3 separate regions of the Homo sapiens genome follow, and all the other regions are linked to region 3. Evidence: promoter capture Hi-C in 16 types of primary human blood cells and fetal thymus (Javierre and others, 2016). All regions are on one chromosome and are shown on one strand. The core of a region is centred on a gene start or on the middle of the fragment in contact, and the rest is flanking DNA. Distances in the headings are between cores, read along the strand shown.

Region 1 (2,846 bases), core at 93-2,592, about 21 Mb after region 3:
ATACAGTTGATGTTTCACGCTTAACTCTTTTGCCCATGAAGTCTTTTTACCTCTTCTATTTTCTATACTTGCTTGTTTTTCTTACTGATGTTACTTGTATTTCAAGGTTAGAGTCCAGGAAAATTAGTTTCAGTTGTTCTTTTGATGAACAGAAAGCCAATCACAAAGCAGCAGCATGTTTCTTGGTTGGGAATTTCAGGCATGTGTCCTTTTCCCTGTTTACCTCCAGGAATCCTTAGCCTCTGGAGAGAAGCTTCTATATGTCATTTGACTGTAGGACTCTGAGCTTCTTACTGATTTTAAGCACAAGTAGTTGTTTTGTGTGTAGAAGAGCAACTCATCTTTGTGAGCCTATCACAAAACAAAGGTACCTCTGTACTTCTAAAGAAATTGCTCTAAAATATTTGCTCTTTTCTAGTTTGTAGTATAATCTTGATTTCTATCAGAAATCAAATTGTAAAGTTAGACTGCATATTCAAGTTGCCATTCTACTTCCTGTGAGGCCAGCCAGCTTTTTGTCTGATATAACCACTAGTCCTCTTCCTGACCACCGAGAGGAACTTTCACAGGGCCACCCAGAAATGAGTTTGTTGCCAAGTCCTGTTGCAGGGTGGGTGTTAGTGGGAGTAGCAAGGAGCTTGACTGAACTATGGCATGACTTCCACACAAATTTTTGTCTTTATTTAGAGAATGGCAATTTAAAAGAAAAAGATATACTTGTTTTGCCCCTTGACCTGACCGACACTGGTTCCCATGAAGCGGCTACCAAAGCTGTTCTCCAGGAGTTTGGTAGAGTAAGTAGCATCTTATATTGATATAGTCTTGCTTTGAAGTAACTGCAGAAGAGATTCCCATCCGTGGTGCTGTCATACAAAGGGCTTTAGGCAAGTGGGGTCCATGCAGTGAGATCGGGCCCATGAGTTGGGCCCCTTAATCTCTGAGCCTTTGTCATTATGGAATTAGTACTTTTCATGTCTTAACAAGTACAAATTCCTCCATGTAGAACAAAAGAAGCTAAAAATTCACGGCTGCTTTTATTTATTTATTTATGTATTTTGAGACAAAGTCTTGCTCTGTCGCCCAGGCTGGAGTGCAGTGGTGTGATATCGGTTCACTGCAATCTCCGCCTCCCAGGTTTAAGGGATTCTCCTGCCTCAGCCTCCTGAGTAGCTGGGATTACAGGCATGCACCATCACGCCCAGCTAATTTTTATATTTTTTAGTAGAGATGGGGTTTCACCATGTTGGTCAGGCTGGTCTTGAACTCCTGACCTCATGGTCCACCCTCCTCAGCCTCCCAAAGTGCAGGGATTACAGGCTACTGTGCCCAGCTGGCTGCTTTTATTTATTTTAATGACAATTATTAACTTTCACAAAAAGTCACCTAAAACGGGAATTTAATTCCACAGGTAAATTCAGGGCTTTATTTTATCTTTTTAATTGCTGACTTCTGGAAATATACCATTGTTCCATTGATTCTTTAAGTTAACAAAATAACCAACCATCCATAGGAATTCCATCAATCTATCCACAAGACATCCCCCAAACACCCCTTTTCTGATTTTATTTAACTAGATCGACATTCTGGTCAACAATGGTGGAATGTCCCAGCGTTCTCTGTGCATGGATACCAGCTTGGATGTCTACAGAAAGCTAATAGAGCTTAACTACTTAGGGACGGTGTCCTTGACAAAATGTGTTCTGCCTCACATGATCGAGAGGAAGCAAGGAAAGATTGTTACTGTGAATAGCATCCTGGGTATCATATCTGTACCTCTTTCCATTGGATACTGTGCTAGCAAGCATGCTCTCCGGGTAAGGCTGCTCAAACTCAACTCTGATAGAACTGACTTAAATGTGTATATGGGGGATATGGCCATCACTGTGTGAGGTCCTTGGAACTGGAAGTGATGTGGGGAGACAGAGAGACCCAAGGAGACTTTTGGTAGAGGACACCCCCAGTAGATGCTAAAAAAGACTTGATCCACACATGCCTCTAACTTGTTGAACAAATAAATATGTATCAAGCACTGCATTGTGCCATGTACTACAACAGACCCTGGGGATATAAAGATAATAAGATGTGGTCTCTGCCCTCAAAAAGTGTATCATCTATTTAACATGTTACTCTTCACCTTATCCTTATTCCTACTAAATCTTCATGGAAAATTGGGGGTCCACTTCTCCTTTCTTCTACATACACTTCAGGATGTACTTTTTCCTCCCCATTTCTGTGACTTCTTTTCCTTGCCCCTTGTAGTTGGTGTTTATTTTGCCTGGTCTAATTATATATGCATGTCAGAAATAGGTACTTCCCACAGGATGATTAGTCCTGGTCTCATATCCTTACTGGGAAAAATCTTGACTGTATTCTCTCTGGTTTCATTGGAAGAAGAAAATCTAGTCAAGGCAGAGGCAAGGAGAGAAGCTTGATTTGGACTGCATAACTTACGATGTATAAATATTAGAAATGGATGAATTTTTAATGGTGGCTTAAGACTGGATATAAAGAAATTATAAGGCCAATAGGAAAAGAATGATTAAGGAAGACACAAAATTTATATTTAAAGCTGTTGAAGTCAGTTTAAGTAGAATGTTTCACTGTTGGAATCATGAGATGCAATAGCTACATGGTCATCATGGTTTCATGAAAATTTGAAGCTTTGGTTCTTTAGGACATCTTTTTTCTGCTGCAAAGTGCAGACAATTGCAGACAGTGATGAAGCGGAATGCTATACTGATGATTTCCTCATATTTAGTAACAGGCATCAGTCACTTCCTGTGGAGCAGTTGGGCAAGCCTCAGGCAGGCAGATGAGGGAGGGCGGCCACCCATCTGTTTGGCACC
Region 2 (2,700 bases), core at 165-2,664, about 21 Mb after region 3:
ATGGTGAAACCCCGTCTCTACTAAAAATACAAAAATTAGCCAGGTGTGGTGTCGGGAGCCTGTAATCCTAGCTACTTGGGAGGCTGAGGCAGGAGAATTGCTTGAACCCAGGAGGCAGAGGTTGCAGTGAGCTGAGATTGCGCCATTGCACTCCAGCCTGGGTGACAAGGTGAGACTCCATCTCAAAAATCAATCAATAAATAAATATAAAAATAGAAATAAAAATTAAGTTAGATAAACTTCCAATGAAATAAATTTTAAACAAAGGTAGTATGTGATAAAAACATCACTTCCAAATTATGTTAATACATTTTAATATTGTCTTTGTTCTTTAGGCAATTTACATGCATTGTGTCTGCATGGTGGAAATTCCCTATATGTAATTGTACATCTCTTCCCAATACCACATTTAGTGAGTTTTCTTTGGTAGCTTGATCAGCGGACACCACAGATGAGGGCTTCACTTATTGCTTTGCTGGTTGTGGGCTAGACCAGGGTTGTCCAATCTTTTGCTTCCCTCGGCCACATTGGCAGAAGAAAAATAGTCTTGGGCCACACATAAAATACGCTAACACTAATGATAGCTGATGAGCTAATACAAAACAAAACGAAACAAAATCACACACACACACAAAATCTCACATTTTAAGAAAGTTTACGAATTTGTGTTGGGCTGCATTCAAAGCCATCCTGGGCTGTATGCGGCCCACAGGCCCAGGGTTGGACAAGCTTGGTCTAGGCTTAAGTGACAGAGAAAATGTTTTATGCAGATTAAATGTAAAAGACATGTCGTGTCTATAACTGTTACATGGTGAATAGCATAAAAACATTCAATTTAGCAATGAAGTCACATCATTGACTAATAAGCTCTAACATACATTTTTGTTGTTTTATTTTTATCTTAAATGAAAATATTAACCAATAGCCATGTTGGAACTACATTTGGAAAGGTGGTTGTTAAACATTTCCCAGCACACACCTGGATCTGCATCTGCTGTGTCAATTGAACCACTCACTGGTTCTGTGACCTCAGGCAAGTCATTTAAATTATAAGCCTTGGTTTTATCCTCCACAGAATACTTCCTCCTAAAATGTGTTGTGAAAATTAGAATAGATGAAGGCACCCTTGAAAAGATGACTGATGCGGTTGGTTGCCCCACCACTTCCTACTACTTGGCAGAGCCTCCTCGTTGGCAGATCCTTCTCTCACTAGAGCATGTATATGGATGCATGCTCTCTCACCCTCCCTTGTAGCTTAGAGCAGAGCATACCAATCTATGTGCCAGCATACCCTGGTATGTCTCAGATGGGTCATAGATGTGATAAGGTATGGATCCCTTAAGCCCTTGGGACATTCAAGTGAGGCTGAGCTGCTGAAGCCCTGGGATGGTATGACTGGCCACAAGCAACATTACCCAGGTACCCCTCTGTGTCACAAAAACGTTATCTTTGTATTTGTGTCATGGTGTGAAAAAATTGAGAAGCACTGCCTGGGGACATAGTGAGGTAGCCCAATTCTGGATAAAGGAAATTGAGAAGTCTTGAGGGGGTAGAGAGGTTTTCTTCCCTAATAAGAAGAATCACAGGAGAGAAAATGCCTTCCTCAGCCATATGTTGTTATTTCTATATGTGAGCCTGGAATTTCAAGGTTATCTTGCAAAGAACCAAGGCAATGTAGAGAAAAGAATTGATAGCAAGTGGCTGGATCTTTCACATTGTAAAGCCATTGAGCCATCCGTGCAATTGCCCACCTTGGGAATTTATTTTTAAGAGTGATAATAAATGCTCCTCATTGTTTAAACTACTTTGATTTTTGTATTTGGTTATTCATAATTAAAAACACCCAAATACAGTAGAAGAACTGGTACATCCCTGACACCTAATGAGTGCTCAATATGGTTAGTTAATCACCAAATTAGATCCTTTGCCTTTAGAAAAGCTGCCATGGTCAAATGTGTGTTGATCTTATTTTTCGTAAATATTTAAGAAATTTGTTCAGTAACTAGCTTAACTTTTAATATTTATCTTGAGTCTCTTCTAAATATGTTTTTACTGTATAATAAAAGCAATAATTGAAAAATGACATCATTTTAAGCTTGAGAGCAACTAGATACAAAGATGTTGATATGCATTTTCTCTTCTTGAAGGATCTAGACAAACTGGAGCACCATTACATGAAAAAGGTTAAAGAATCAATGTTTTGCAAAATAGAACTGGAATTAATTCATGGGAATTACAGAGAAGATCATATTAGTTCAATATAAAAAGAGGGCCTAGAATGTGCCAAGCTCCATACAATGCCCCTCATGAGTGTTATTTAATTCTCACAACAACTTTGCAAAAAAGAAACTATTTTTTTTTCCATTTTACAAAGGAGGAAGCTAAGGCTGTGAAAAAGAGCTCTTTTGCAAGCCTAGGACCTGATTCCAAAATTCCCACTCTTTCTGTTGCAAATTCTGGCTAAGCTTTCCAGAGATGACTTGCTTTCCCCTTGAGGCCCTTTCAGTGCATTGTGCCATGGAAAACAAAAAGCCCAACAATGACATCTTTACCAAAGATGCCTTGGGGAGATGGGAGAAGAGTTACAATGCACATTACACAGCAAAATCTTTTTTAAGCTCCAAGTAAAATTGGTTTTTTCTTAGAGTTTTGCTTCCAGCAGTCACTTCCTCCATTCTCCTGCTCTCTCCACGTGAGGAA
Region 3 (2,700 bases), core at 9-2,508:
GATGCATTTTTTTTCCTCTTTGGTAAGACGCCTTTGATATTCTTCAAATCTGGTTTCACCAGCACAGAACTTTGACGTTTCGTTTTGCTTTGTCTCTGGAAGACAAACTCCCTCACTCATCCACGCGACATTTCAAGTCCCTCAAAATTCCCAGGGACAAGAAAACTAGGTACTATGAATTCTGCCTTCCAAACAGCATTCTCTGTTCTGCTTGCAAGGTCGATATAAAGGCAGGATTTGCTTGGGCAGAACAAGTCAAAAGCTTATTGAATTGCACTTATTGAATTGAACATGGAACACAGCCGGCTTGCTCTCTTATAGCGAGAGGCCATGCGAGTTGGTGGGTCAAGGGCATGCATTTCAAAGTGATCAGTCACTATACGTTGGCCACATGGAGTCGCAGTATTTTGGCAATATTTTTAAAAACCAGGGAAAGTTACTGTGCTGTTACAATCCAAAGGCTGGTGGGGTTTTCTTCCACCCCGCATTTCCACTAGCGTGATAAATTATTTAAAGTACGTGGCCTAGTAGAGGACTAACCTCTGGGTAACATAAGCCTAGTCTTCGCAGCGTACCCACTGTGGAAACAAACGAATCAGACGTTACTAATTGTGGAATGTTAAAAGTAGGCCCCGATCGGCTTTTACTCCCTTTGGAAAATCCTACACAATTCTGCGCGCGAAAGACCCACCCTCGGTGAGGCGGTGAGGCGCGAACGCCGCGAAGCTCACAGTCAAAGCCTCGCTGACAAATCAAGAGATGACTCCGCATTTAAAACCTTCCCGAATAGGAACGCGCCAGAGGCCGGAAGCCACGCCACGTGACCAGTCCTCCTCCGCGGCCATTCCTAGCGAGGCAGTAGGCACCGCCTCTGTCACATTTCCTAGCTCCTAAAGCGCGGGACCAGGCGGAAACGTGCGACAGGAGGCGGTCCCACCTAGCTTTGGACTGGAGTGTCAGTAGAACTCCCGTCTTTTCCAGCAACGCTTTGCAAGTTCTTCACCGCAAAGAACTGCCGCAGACTTCCGCCTGGGTGCCAACCACGTGATCACGCGAGCGTTGGAGAGGCGTAGGTCCGATTTCACTACTTCACTCCCCGGGCTCCGCCAGTCCAGTACCCGCCACGGCGCGTGACAACGCGGCTCGCCGGCGGCCTCCGCCCCGGCGCGCCTGCGCACGCGGCTCTCGCGGTGTCTCGCGCTCAGCCCCGCCCACCTCTGCCCCCGCCCTTTCCGCCCCTCCCTCCCCCTTCACCCTGTCTCTCGGCGGCGGCGGCGGCGGCGGTGGTGGCTCGCGCAGCTTGTTGGCTCGCTATATAAAGGAGAGAAGCGGGCGGACCGGACGGCTGGAGCTGCAGCCGGTGGCGGCAGCGGCGGCGCAGGGAGCGGTGACCGGTGGTGGTTTCCCTCCTTGGCGCGGGGTGGGGAGCGGGCAACGCCCCCCGGACCCCTGAAGGGTCGTGGCTTTTTTTTTTTTTTTAAGGCGATTCTCGAGGTTTTCAGCTGCGGGAGGAGTGCCCCCCTCCTCCTCCTCTCTCCGCTCTCCCCTACTCCTTCAGGATTGATTTTGTTTAAAATTTTTTCCCCAATCTTGCGGTGATTTGGGTCACCCTCCGGGTGTTATAGTTTTTTTTTTTTTGGTTTTGTTTTTATCTTGTTTTCTTGGGGTTGCCCCCTCTTGTTTGTGTTGTGTGTGGAAATGGCGAACTCGGCAAATACAAACACCGTGGTAAGGACGTGGTTCGGTGGCCGGCGGGGGCTTCGTTCAGGCTGCAGCAACGGCCGGACCGGGCGGGGGCGGGGACGGCGGCGACTCCCGGCCTCGACTCTTCAGCCGCCCGCGCGGCCGCCGCCGCCGCCGCTTCCCGCCTCGGGCGGATCGGGCCGGAGCGCCGGGCGGCGGGCGCGGGGGGGCGCCGAGGGCTCGCGGCGCGGGGAGGGCGGGGGCGCCGGTGGGGCCTGGGGCCGCCGCGGGCCGGGCCGGGCCGCGGAGGCGGTTGGGCCCGGTCGGGCGCGCAGCCCCGGCCCCAGAACCCGGCCGCCGGGAGGGAGGGCGGGAGGGGAGCCGCCGCTTCCCCCCGAGGGGCCCGTCCGCGCTGGCTTGACGAGGGCTCCCCGAGTGGCTACAGAACAAAAACTGTGTGTGGGGAATCGGGCGAACCCCCGAGACCCATCGTGATCCACTTTAATGCAGTGGAAGATTAATGGTTACTTTGGGGGTTTCTTAGGTTGTTTTTGGCGGCTGTGCTTTGGGAACCTTCTCTGAGGCCATTTTATGTTTAAAAAAAGGACGAAGGTTGGTTGAAAAGCACTTATCTCAGTTCCTTCCGAATGGGTAAAATGGCGAAGGGGAAGACCCCCATCGTATCTTCGCCTAGCAGAAGCACCAAAACAAACAAAAAAAGCCTGCAGTGGTCCAAGTGTCCCCGCTTTCGCCTTGAAATTTACCTACTTCTTCCCGTTGGTCCCTTTTTGTTACTTGCGATCACGTAGGTTTGCAAAAAGCAGTCACATAAATAACCTTTTCAGTCACCAACGCAGTGTGATCACTAGTCCACCCAACTCTTATTTTTATGATGACAATAAAACACGTTTTTTGCCCGGTCCCAAATGCCGCAGACCAGCCCGCGGCCGCCCGACACCGTACCGTTGGCGACTCGGGTCTAACCATCATGGCTGCGGCCGCTTACCCTGCTTTTCA

The links. Contacts are between HindIII fragments. The CHiCAGO score rates a contact against its expected background, and 5 or more counts as called.
Region 1: a fragment that was not itself captured here is called in contact with the fragment with the promoter of GTF2A1 in region 3 in 1 of 17 cell types (activated CD4 T cells); the score reaches 9.1 in activated CD4 T cells.
Region 2: a contact is called between a fragment that was not itself captured here and the fragment with the promoter of GTF2A1 in region 3, in 1 of 17 cell types (total CD4 T cells). The highest score is 10.0, in total CD4 T cells.

What each region holds. Positions count from the first base shown.
Region 1 is chr14:60,151,907-60,154,752 of GRCh38, reverse strand. It overlaps DHRS7 (dehydrogenase/reductase 7), which reads left to right. Exons shown (of 7, transcript NM_016029.4): 3 at 688-794; 4 at 1,575-1,814. Among named protein-coding and RNA genes, the nearest start is that of DHRS7, 12 kb to the left of the region's middle. The HindIII fragment of the contact is 2,174 bases long and covers 256-2,429 here.
Region 2 is chr14:60,241,096-60,243,795 of GRCh38, reverse strand. LOC101927702 (a long non-coding RNA gene) reads left to right here. Exons shown (of 3, transcript NR_188027.1): 2 at 926-1,033. Among named protein-coding and RNA genes, the nearest start is that of PPM1A, 6.8 kb to the left of the region's middle. The HindIII fragment of the contact is 1,366 bases long and covers 732-2,097 here.
Region 3 is chr14:81,219,517-81,222,216 of GRCh38, reverse strand. GTF2A1 (general transcription factor IIA subunit 1) reads left to right here and starts at 1,258. Exons shown (of 9, transcript NM_015859.4): 1 at 1,258-1,728. The coding sequence starts at 1,699. It overlaps GTF2A1-AS1 (GTF2A1 antisense RNA 1), which reads right to left and starts at 999. Exons shown (of 2, transcript NR_135252.1): 1 at 692-999; 2 at 1-578. RefSeq lists silencers at 1,094-1,393, 1,424-1,473, 2,004-2,123 and enhancers at 2,464-2,553, 2,594-2,663, 2,536-2,700. The HindIII fragment of the contact is 3,079 bases long and covers 265-2,700 here.